2 separate regions of the Homo sapiens genome follow, and region 1 is linked to region 2. The links are contacts of gene promoters, found by promoter capture Hi-C in human tissues and cell types (Jung and others, 2019). All regions are on one chromosome and are shown on one strand. Each heading gives the region's core, a stretch centred on a gene start or on the middle of the fragment in contact. The rest is flanking DNA. Distances are from core to core; before and after follow the strand shown. Region 1 has its middle 140 kb from the start of MIR4689. Region 2 holds the start of AJAP1 (adherens junctions associated protein 1).

What was found. The method cuts DNA at HindIII sites, captures the fragments that hold promoters and counts their contacts. A contact is called where the count stands out against the background at its distance.
Region 1: a contact is called between a fragment that was not itself captured here and the fragment with the promoter of AJAP1 in region 2, in 1 of the 25 tissues and cell types used here (dorsolateral prefrontal cortex).

What each region holds. Positions count from the first base shown.
Region 1 is chr1:5,725,483-5,729,565 of GRCh38, reverse strand. No RefSeq gene overlaps it. Among named protein-coding and RNA genes, the nearest start is that of MIR4689, 140 kb to the left of the region's middle. The HindIII fragment of the contact is 4,911 bases long and covers 1-4,083 here.
Region 2 is chr1:4,653,261-4,657,035 of GRCh38, reverse strand. It overlaps AJAP1 (adherens junctions associated protein 1), which reads right to left and starts at 2,427. Exons shown (of 6, transcript NM_018836.4): 1 at 1,582-2,427. The coding sequence starts at 1,610. The HindIII fragment of the contact is 14,001 bases long and covers 1-3,775 here.

The DNA.
Region 1 (4,083 bases), core at 934-3,433, 1.1 Mb before region 2:
TTGTTACTTGCCACCCAGCAGGCAGCCCAAGTTTCATGGTCCTCATGGATCCCCTCTGCCTCTAAACCCCATGGCTGTGATACTGAGAGGCCCAGGTGGATGCTGCATATGTAGGGGGTCTGTGTCCCAGCCAAGGACCCCATCTGAGGGAACCCTGTCTTGCTGAGTGGACTACAAGCACACCTGCCTGGCCTTTGCCCTTGAGGGGGACATTATCTTTATTACACTGGAGTCCAAACAAGCCTGCCTCTGCCCTGGAGGGAGAGAGCCTCTATCTTCCAAGGTTGTTCACTATTCAAACATTCCTGGAAAGATAGTCCGGAGCAAACACTATAGATGGCTATATCCAAGATGAGCAGAACCACCAGAGACCCAGAAGACTGTGTCTCAGGAGCAAGTGACTCAGCCCTGCTGAGCTTCTTCCTTTGTCTGTAGGAGGGGACACAATAGTGGTGTCCACCCCAGAAGGCCACTCCATTACCTCCTCCATTACCCCCTCTAGTCCCTGCCCCACCCCCTTGCCCATCCAGGGGTGGGGATGGGGAGGCGGGGGGAGGAGCAGGGCTTTGCAGACTTGGGCGATTCCATCAATTTATTGTCCTTTTGTAAACCCTGCTGCTTGTTTGGGGCTGGCTGCTCCTTCTAGCCCTGGTGAGCCAGGGCCCCTGCTTCTGGTGCTGCACCCTGGCCTCCTGAGGTGCCCCTGGCTCACAAGGCCTTCTCCAGGGAGGTGTGACAGATGACTACGGAGTGACCCTCCCAGCTGCTCACAATGCTGACAGCCGAGAGACTCTCAGAAATCCCTTTTCTGTTTCATTGTCTATCACTTATGTACAGCAATCTAAATTTCTAGCTGTTAATGAAAGATTATAGATGTGTTAAAAATATCCCCAAAAACCTCTCTTCTTTGCACTTGGATTGTTAATGAAATTCCCAAGCTTCATTTTCAGGTTTTAATGAACAGCACAGGGTACTTCATTGACATATTGGCCTTGCGTGTAGTACCCTCCCTCGGCCCCTCTCGGGGGAAGCTCTTAGAACAGGTGTCTGAGTGGAGGGTCCCAAGGTCCCGACACGGCTGATGGGCTCCCACGAGCCTCCTCTGGAGGGTGACAGGGGTTGCTTTGCAGGCGCTGCTGCCAGGTAGGGACTCGGAGAGACACTTGTCCTCATCAGAGTTTGTGCGTTCTTGGTGATCGGGTCCGTGTCCTTAGGGGCTGGGGTTGCAGGCCGGCAATGCCAGGAGCATTTTGTCAGCCTTCTGGTGCCACACTTGCAGTCTGGGGAACTGCTGCCACCTGAGCTGTGCTTCCTGGCTGAGGACATTGTGCAAACAATAGCTTCCCTTAGGCAGGGAGCCATTCAGTGCAGATCATGGTGCCTGCGCTTTCTCTATGAAATTAGAATGAACATAGAAGTAACAAAGCAATAGTATCAGCTTCAGCTCATTTCAGCTCCATGAACCTTTGCAGAGCACCTATGATGTGCTGGGCACCTTGCCGAGTGCCTGGGATCTGAAGAGCCTCGTGGCAAGACGTGGGTGGGTTTAGCTTCTAAGGTCTACATAGGTTAAAAAAAAATTGCATACTAAAAATCACTCTGAACTTGCTGCCAGATCTCGATGTGGGCCCTTGGAAGTGCAGGGCCTGAGGATCTCCTCTTTCATTCCTCTGTGTATTCCAGCTGTGGCTTCCCTGCTGAAGTGTCCTTCACACTGGACAACGTCTAGTTTGGACAGGAGTCACGGCTGTGAGGGAAGCTAATACAGAGATTGCTATTATTTTCCCCACTCTGCAGCCCCGATCCTATGCAGTTGAGTTCTTAGAAGTTACATTTCCATATAAGGCTAATGGCTTATCCAGGCAGCAAAGTTAAGGAGAGAGCGGGGAGAGTTAGCATAGGTTTAAGTGCCCTGCAGGAGGAGACAGTTTGGGAGGGGGAGTTAGAATGAAGATTCAGGGTCTTGCAGAGAGAGGGCAGCTAGAAACAGCTTCTGGGGTACACAGAGAGGCATTTGGCCCCCCACCTTGGGGCTTGGGAAGACTTCCAGGAGGAGATGGCATGCTGCTTCCTAAGGGCCATACTTCCTATTTAGGAAGATAATGAATATATTTGGAGCAAGAATGAAAGGAAGTAAACATCTAGGTACATGTGAGTACCTTGTCTGCTGTACATGAACACCAGACTGTGAACACTGTGTCCTCAGTGCCTAGCAAAACACAATTGCCTAATAAATATTTGTGGAATGAGTGAAAGACCATTAATTATTTTCTACTTTGAAAAGAAGACTTTAACTCTCCTCTCCTGAATCCAGTGGTTCTTTTTTTTAATTTTATTATTATTATACTTTAAGTTTTAGGGTATATGTGCACAATGTGCAGATTAGTTACATATGTATACATGTGCCATGCTGGTGTGCTGCACCCATTAACTCGTCATTTAGCATTAGGTATATCTCCTAAAGCTATCCCTCCCCCCTCCCCCCACCCCACAACAGTCCCCAGAGTGTGATGTTCCCCTTCCTGTGTCCATGTGTTCGCATTGTTCAATTCCACCTATGAGTGAGAATATGCGGTGTCAGCATCTGGGGTGTCGTAGCTACCAGGAAAAAACTCAGCAGAGGCAGCTGCAGGAGCAAGGGGCAGGGGAACACAGAGACTGTCTGCTGGGGGCTCCTGAGCCTGGCCATGGCTGCGTGCCGGCCTCCTGGCCTGCAGCAAGGCTGCAGGTGAGCAGAAAAGTGAGATTGACTGCCACTGCGCAGCTGCCCACCACAGGTCCAGCCCAAAGCCTCTCACACCCTAAGCACCATATTTTGCCCCATCACCCCGGGGGACATCTGGCAATACTTGGAGACATTTTGGTTGTTACAAGGGGTAGGCTTCGGGGTTAGGGGTGAGAGATGTTGTTAAACATTCTACCATGCACAGGTGGCCCACCCCGGCCACCTGACACGAAAGAGATTTGTCCCGCCCGAGATATCAATAGTGACGAGGCTGAGGATGCTGCACCAATGCTGCTTGGGGTGTCAAAGGCTTTGGGCTGGACCCGTGGTGGGCAGCTGCGCAGTGGCAGCCAATCTCAATTTTCTGCTCACCTGGAGCCTTGCTGCAGGCCAGGAGGCCGGCACGCAGCCACGGCCAGGCTCAGGAGCCCCCAGCAGACAGTCTCTGTGTTCCCCTGCCCCTTGCTCCTGCAGCTGCCTCTGCTGGGTTTTTTCCTGATAGCCCTGACACCCCAGATGCTGACAGACTGCAGGGAGGCCCCGCCATGCCTGGCTGGCTAGGGACCCCATCCTGGGCGCTGAGAATTCAGCGCTTGGCCTCAGAAAGCAGCCTGCTCCTTTTTCTCTCACATTTCCAGGATGCAGCCTGGCCTGAGGCCCTAGGAGTAGGGGAGGGCAGGGTAATCTGCAGGGCAAAGCGTTCAAGTCCCACTCTGCTTACGCTCTTTTGGTTGTTGCCCAGCACAGATGATCAAGTCCAGGGTGGCCACACTCAGGGCAGGGTTTGTGCACTCCCTAAGTCTCCCCAACTCTCAGGCCTTGCTCTCCCTCAGCTCTGAGGACCACACGGCCTTGTGGAGCAGGAACCAGGGAAGGGAGGGAGGGTGGAACACCCCCCATCCTGCCGCTGGATGCTCCAGCCACTGCCTGGATGCACCACACATACTGTCTCCACCGCTGGACTTCTCTGCCCCCCTCTCCCAGATAACGCCACCCCAAGTCCTATCTGTGCTTCAAGCTCCCTCCAGAGCCCTCCCACCCCCAGCCCATGCTCAATCTCCCTTGCCATCCTGTGGCACTAATGGGGCGCATTGCAAGGTTCGGTCTTCAGATGACCTCTCTCTGGAAGCACTGCCTCCTTAACCAGCTGCAAGCTGCAGGATGGCAGAGCCACGTGCCCCTCCCAGAGACTCACACGTGCAGTGAGTATAATGTGTTGAGGACGCTCTGCACGCCAGGTCCCCTGCCAAGTGCTCTGCCTGTGTGGTCACAACAGTCTCATGAGTGACGATGCTGTCATCTTGACTGATTTCCATATGAGAAGCAGAGGCTTGGTGAGGAGAAGACACTGCTACCGA
Region 2 (3,775 bases), core at 1,178-3,677:
CAGCCACTGGCCAGTGTGGGGACCCGTCTGGTCATTCACAAAGCCTTGGAAGGTCTTGCTGAGACCTGGGACAGTCCGGGGCAGAGCAGGGGATGGCAGGCCTCCAGGGCACCTGGATCAGGGTCATTCCTGCAAAGCTGTCCTCGCTCCATTTTGCCAACATCCCACAACGGTCCAAGCCTAAACCTTATCTAGCCCAAGCACACTTATCGATTCACGCCCGACCAATATCCCACACCCAACACAATCGGCTCCATGATTAACCTTTGAAGCCCACAGCAAGATCGGCCACTGAGAGAAGGGATGCTAATAATAACATCTGACAATGTTCACTAGATGTGTTACACAGTATTCACCTCTGGGAGCAGAATCGGCTCATAAATCAAGGGTCGCTAGAAAACACTTGGCGTCCCAGTCCCCTTCCGATTTCTCAAAATCAGGACACGCACTAGATCCTCCCTCCCTTCGCCTCACTCCCCCCGCAGCTTCATCCCTGAGTGGGGGCGGCTCAAGCAGCGGGCTAACAACTACTGGCCTTTTCGTCCCCAACGCGGGAGCGCAGTGCATCCCAGTGGACAAACTCGAGAACCGCACGCTGCTCTCCGCCTCCACCTCTGTCCTCCCCGCTCGCGGTTCCAACCCGGGACCCAAATGCACGAGCTCGGTGAATGCCCCGGCAGGAGGGCGAGGGCTCAGAGGCAGCCTGCCCAGCAAAAACGACAGCTGTGCTCTGGTGGGCCCTGGGCCACCCCAGGCAGAAGCCAGAGAAGCCCGAGAACCCCGGCGGGCTGGCAAAGTTTGCCGAGAAGGGTCTTTCTGGACACCCCCACCACGGGCTCTAGGCTCGAACCCCCTCTTCCATCTGGCCCTGGAGTCCCAGACACAGACAAGCCCCGGGCGCGCCGGCGGGCGTATGTGCGTGTGTGTTTACAGCGGGGTGGCCGCCGGAGCTCCCCAAGAACCCCAGCTCTCCCGCCCCAGCTGCCCGCCAGCTGTGAGCGCCCGTCGGGCCCGGAGGTCACCCGCAAACAGCTGGGTCGGCAGCTGGGAGCCTGGGAGGCCCCTGCTCAGCCCCGGGGCCCCGAGAAAGGAGAAGGGGGAGCGGAGTGGCTGTTTGGCTGTGGTTTCCTCCAACTCCGCCTGCGAAGCTCTCGCTGGGAGCCCGGAGCTTTAGCTTTCCCCGGCAGCCCCGGCCCCCGCGCCCGCCGCGCCCAGCGGCCGGCGCCTCGCCCCGGGCCCCGGGGAGGAGGCGCGCCGGGGCAGCCGGCCAGGACACTGCGCTGCTGGCTCCTAGAGCTGCGGGCGCGCCTGGCCGGCCCCACTTCCCGGGTTGCTGGGGCGGGCGCCGCTGCCCCGACCCCGGACGCGCGGAACCCTGGAGACCCGGCCGCTCCCCGCCAGGGCCGCGGTGCTGCTCCAGGCTCCGGGCGGGCGCCCCTTTCCGGCTACCGGTGCACCCCGTTGCCCGCTTGCGGGAAGCGAAGAGGGGTCCCTTGATTTGCAACATAGAGGAAAGCGCCGCTTCCGCCCAGCCTGGCACCCACGCGCCCACACGCACCCGGCGCCGGCCGGGTCGCTCACCTGAGTCCTAAAAGCTGTTGAATCCACATGGTCACGTTTCGGGGAGCGGGGCCTCAGACCTGGCTCGCCCAGGCCATCTGCGCGGCGCCCGCGCCCGCTCGCTTCCGTCCCGCGGCGCCGGTCTCCGGCTCTCGGTCCGCCGCCTCCCGCCGCCCGCCGGCCGCGGGGCGCACAGCGAGTCAGAGCGCGGCCGCGCGGGGCTCCATGCCGGCCGGCGCGCCGCCGCCGTTGGGGCGCATGGCTCAGGCTGGGCGGCCCGCGGGGGCGCACATCCTCCGGCCGGGGCGCGGGGCTCGCGGCCCCCTCCGCCGGCGGCACAGCGAAGGCGGCAGCGAGGCGGGGCGTGTTCCGGCGCTGTCGCGGCGCAGCAAAGGGCTGGGGAGCCGCGGCTTCGCCCTCCGGGGCGGCGAGGAGGGAGGCCGGCGGCGCTGCCGCTCACGGTGCGTGTCTCCCGGCGCGCGGCTCTTGCCTCCAGCCGGAGCTCCGCGCCGATGGGGCGGCGCTGCTTAGGGTTTGGGGTGACGCGACGCGGACGGACGCGAGTCCCCTCCGCGCTGCCGGGTCGGGGGGCTCTGCCAGAGGCTCCGCCGCCGATCGGCGCCACTCAAGTTGCCCGGGGGCTCCGTCTGAGCGCTCGCTCTGCAGACGGCCGCGGCCCGGAGACTGGCAGGAGGCGGGCACGAGAGGCGCGCGGGGCGAGGGCGCCGTGGAGCGCGGGGCGTGGGGACGCGCGGCGGCGGCGCCGCGCGGAGGAGGCGCGCGGGGATCCCGGGGCCCCGCCGCCCGCGCCCACCGCGCCCGCCGCAGAGCCGCCCGCGCTGCTCAGCCGCCTCCCTCCTCGCGTCTGCCTCTCCGCGCGCTCGCCCCCGCCTCCCGGAGCCGGTCCCAACTCCGCCCGCCCGGCCCGGCTCACGTCACCCGCCTTCCCCGCCCCTCGAACGGGAGCTCGAGCCCCTGGCCTGGCCCCGGCTCCTGCTCGCCGCCCCACCTTGCGGGGGCCGGGGTCGCCGCGGGTGGTGGGGGGCGCTGTGCCCAGCAGGGGCGACAGCGCAGGCGGGGCCTCCTGCAGCCCCCTTCCCCATCCCCGGTCGCGTCCCGGTCCCCACCTTGCGAAAGGCTCGAGAGAGGCCGCAGGCTAGGATTGGACCGCCGGGCGCCGCCGGATGGTGTTGCCAGGGTAACCGGATGGCACGCGAAGCCGTTCGAGGTTCCGACCCGGTTACGGGGGCGCCCAGTGGACCCGGAGAGCTACTTTGGGGAGGGGGCGGCCCCGAAGAAGGACTGGGTGGGGGCGCATGGAGCGGGGGCTGCGCGAAAAGTTTCCTGGGGCGGAGCTGAGCCACGCGGGCCGCGCAGGAGCGTCTGTCCGAGGGTCGCCTACGAGGGACTCCTCTGCTCGGCTGCGCGGGCTTCTGCGTTGATGAAGTCACCGCGTTCCGGGTCGGAGCTTCGGCGCTTCTGCCCCGAACCCAGCGAAGCCCGGTCCTATGCCCCCAATTACCCAACGGTCCCTCATCGCCCAGCGCAGCTGCTGCCTGGCCAGGCCCTTGCTCCGGAGGAGTCACTGGAAAGTTCCAGGGAATCTGGGCCTCCCGGACTCTCCACCGGCGTTTCACTGCTCCCTTCCCATGCCAGGACTCCTCTGTGCCTACCTGGTTAGTCTGTATTTGCAAAAAACAAACAAAAACAACAACAAAAAACAAATGGGGGGCACTTAAAGGAGGACAGACGCTGGGCGGGGACCTTTCACTGAGAGAAGTGACATGGGGCGGAATCCTCTGCAGACCCGCTGACGCCTTGAGAAACCACGGCAAAACCCTGCTTTTAATCCTCCACAGGCTGAGGGCAGTGCAGAATCCGGGCCTTGGAAAGGACACTGGTGCCACCCTTCACTGGGGAAAGGTGCAAGGGGCGGGGGATATACCATGCCGAGCCTTCGCTCTGTGCTCTGTGCAGGTGCTTGACCCAGGCCAGCTCTGGAATCGCCCCAGGCCATGTGAGAGCCGTGGGGGGTGAGAGGGGCGGGAAGCACTTCACAGGTGAGGCCTCCCTGGGAGGGGCAGCCAGTGAGGGGGTGGAAGGGCAGAGCCAGGAGGACCATGGCTTGGGGCTCAGTCTCCCAGGCGAACCATAGCTTGGGGCTTAAGTCCCCCAAGCAGCCCTTTCACCCCCAGGCCTCCAGGATCTTTGCCAA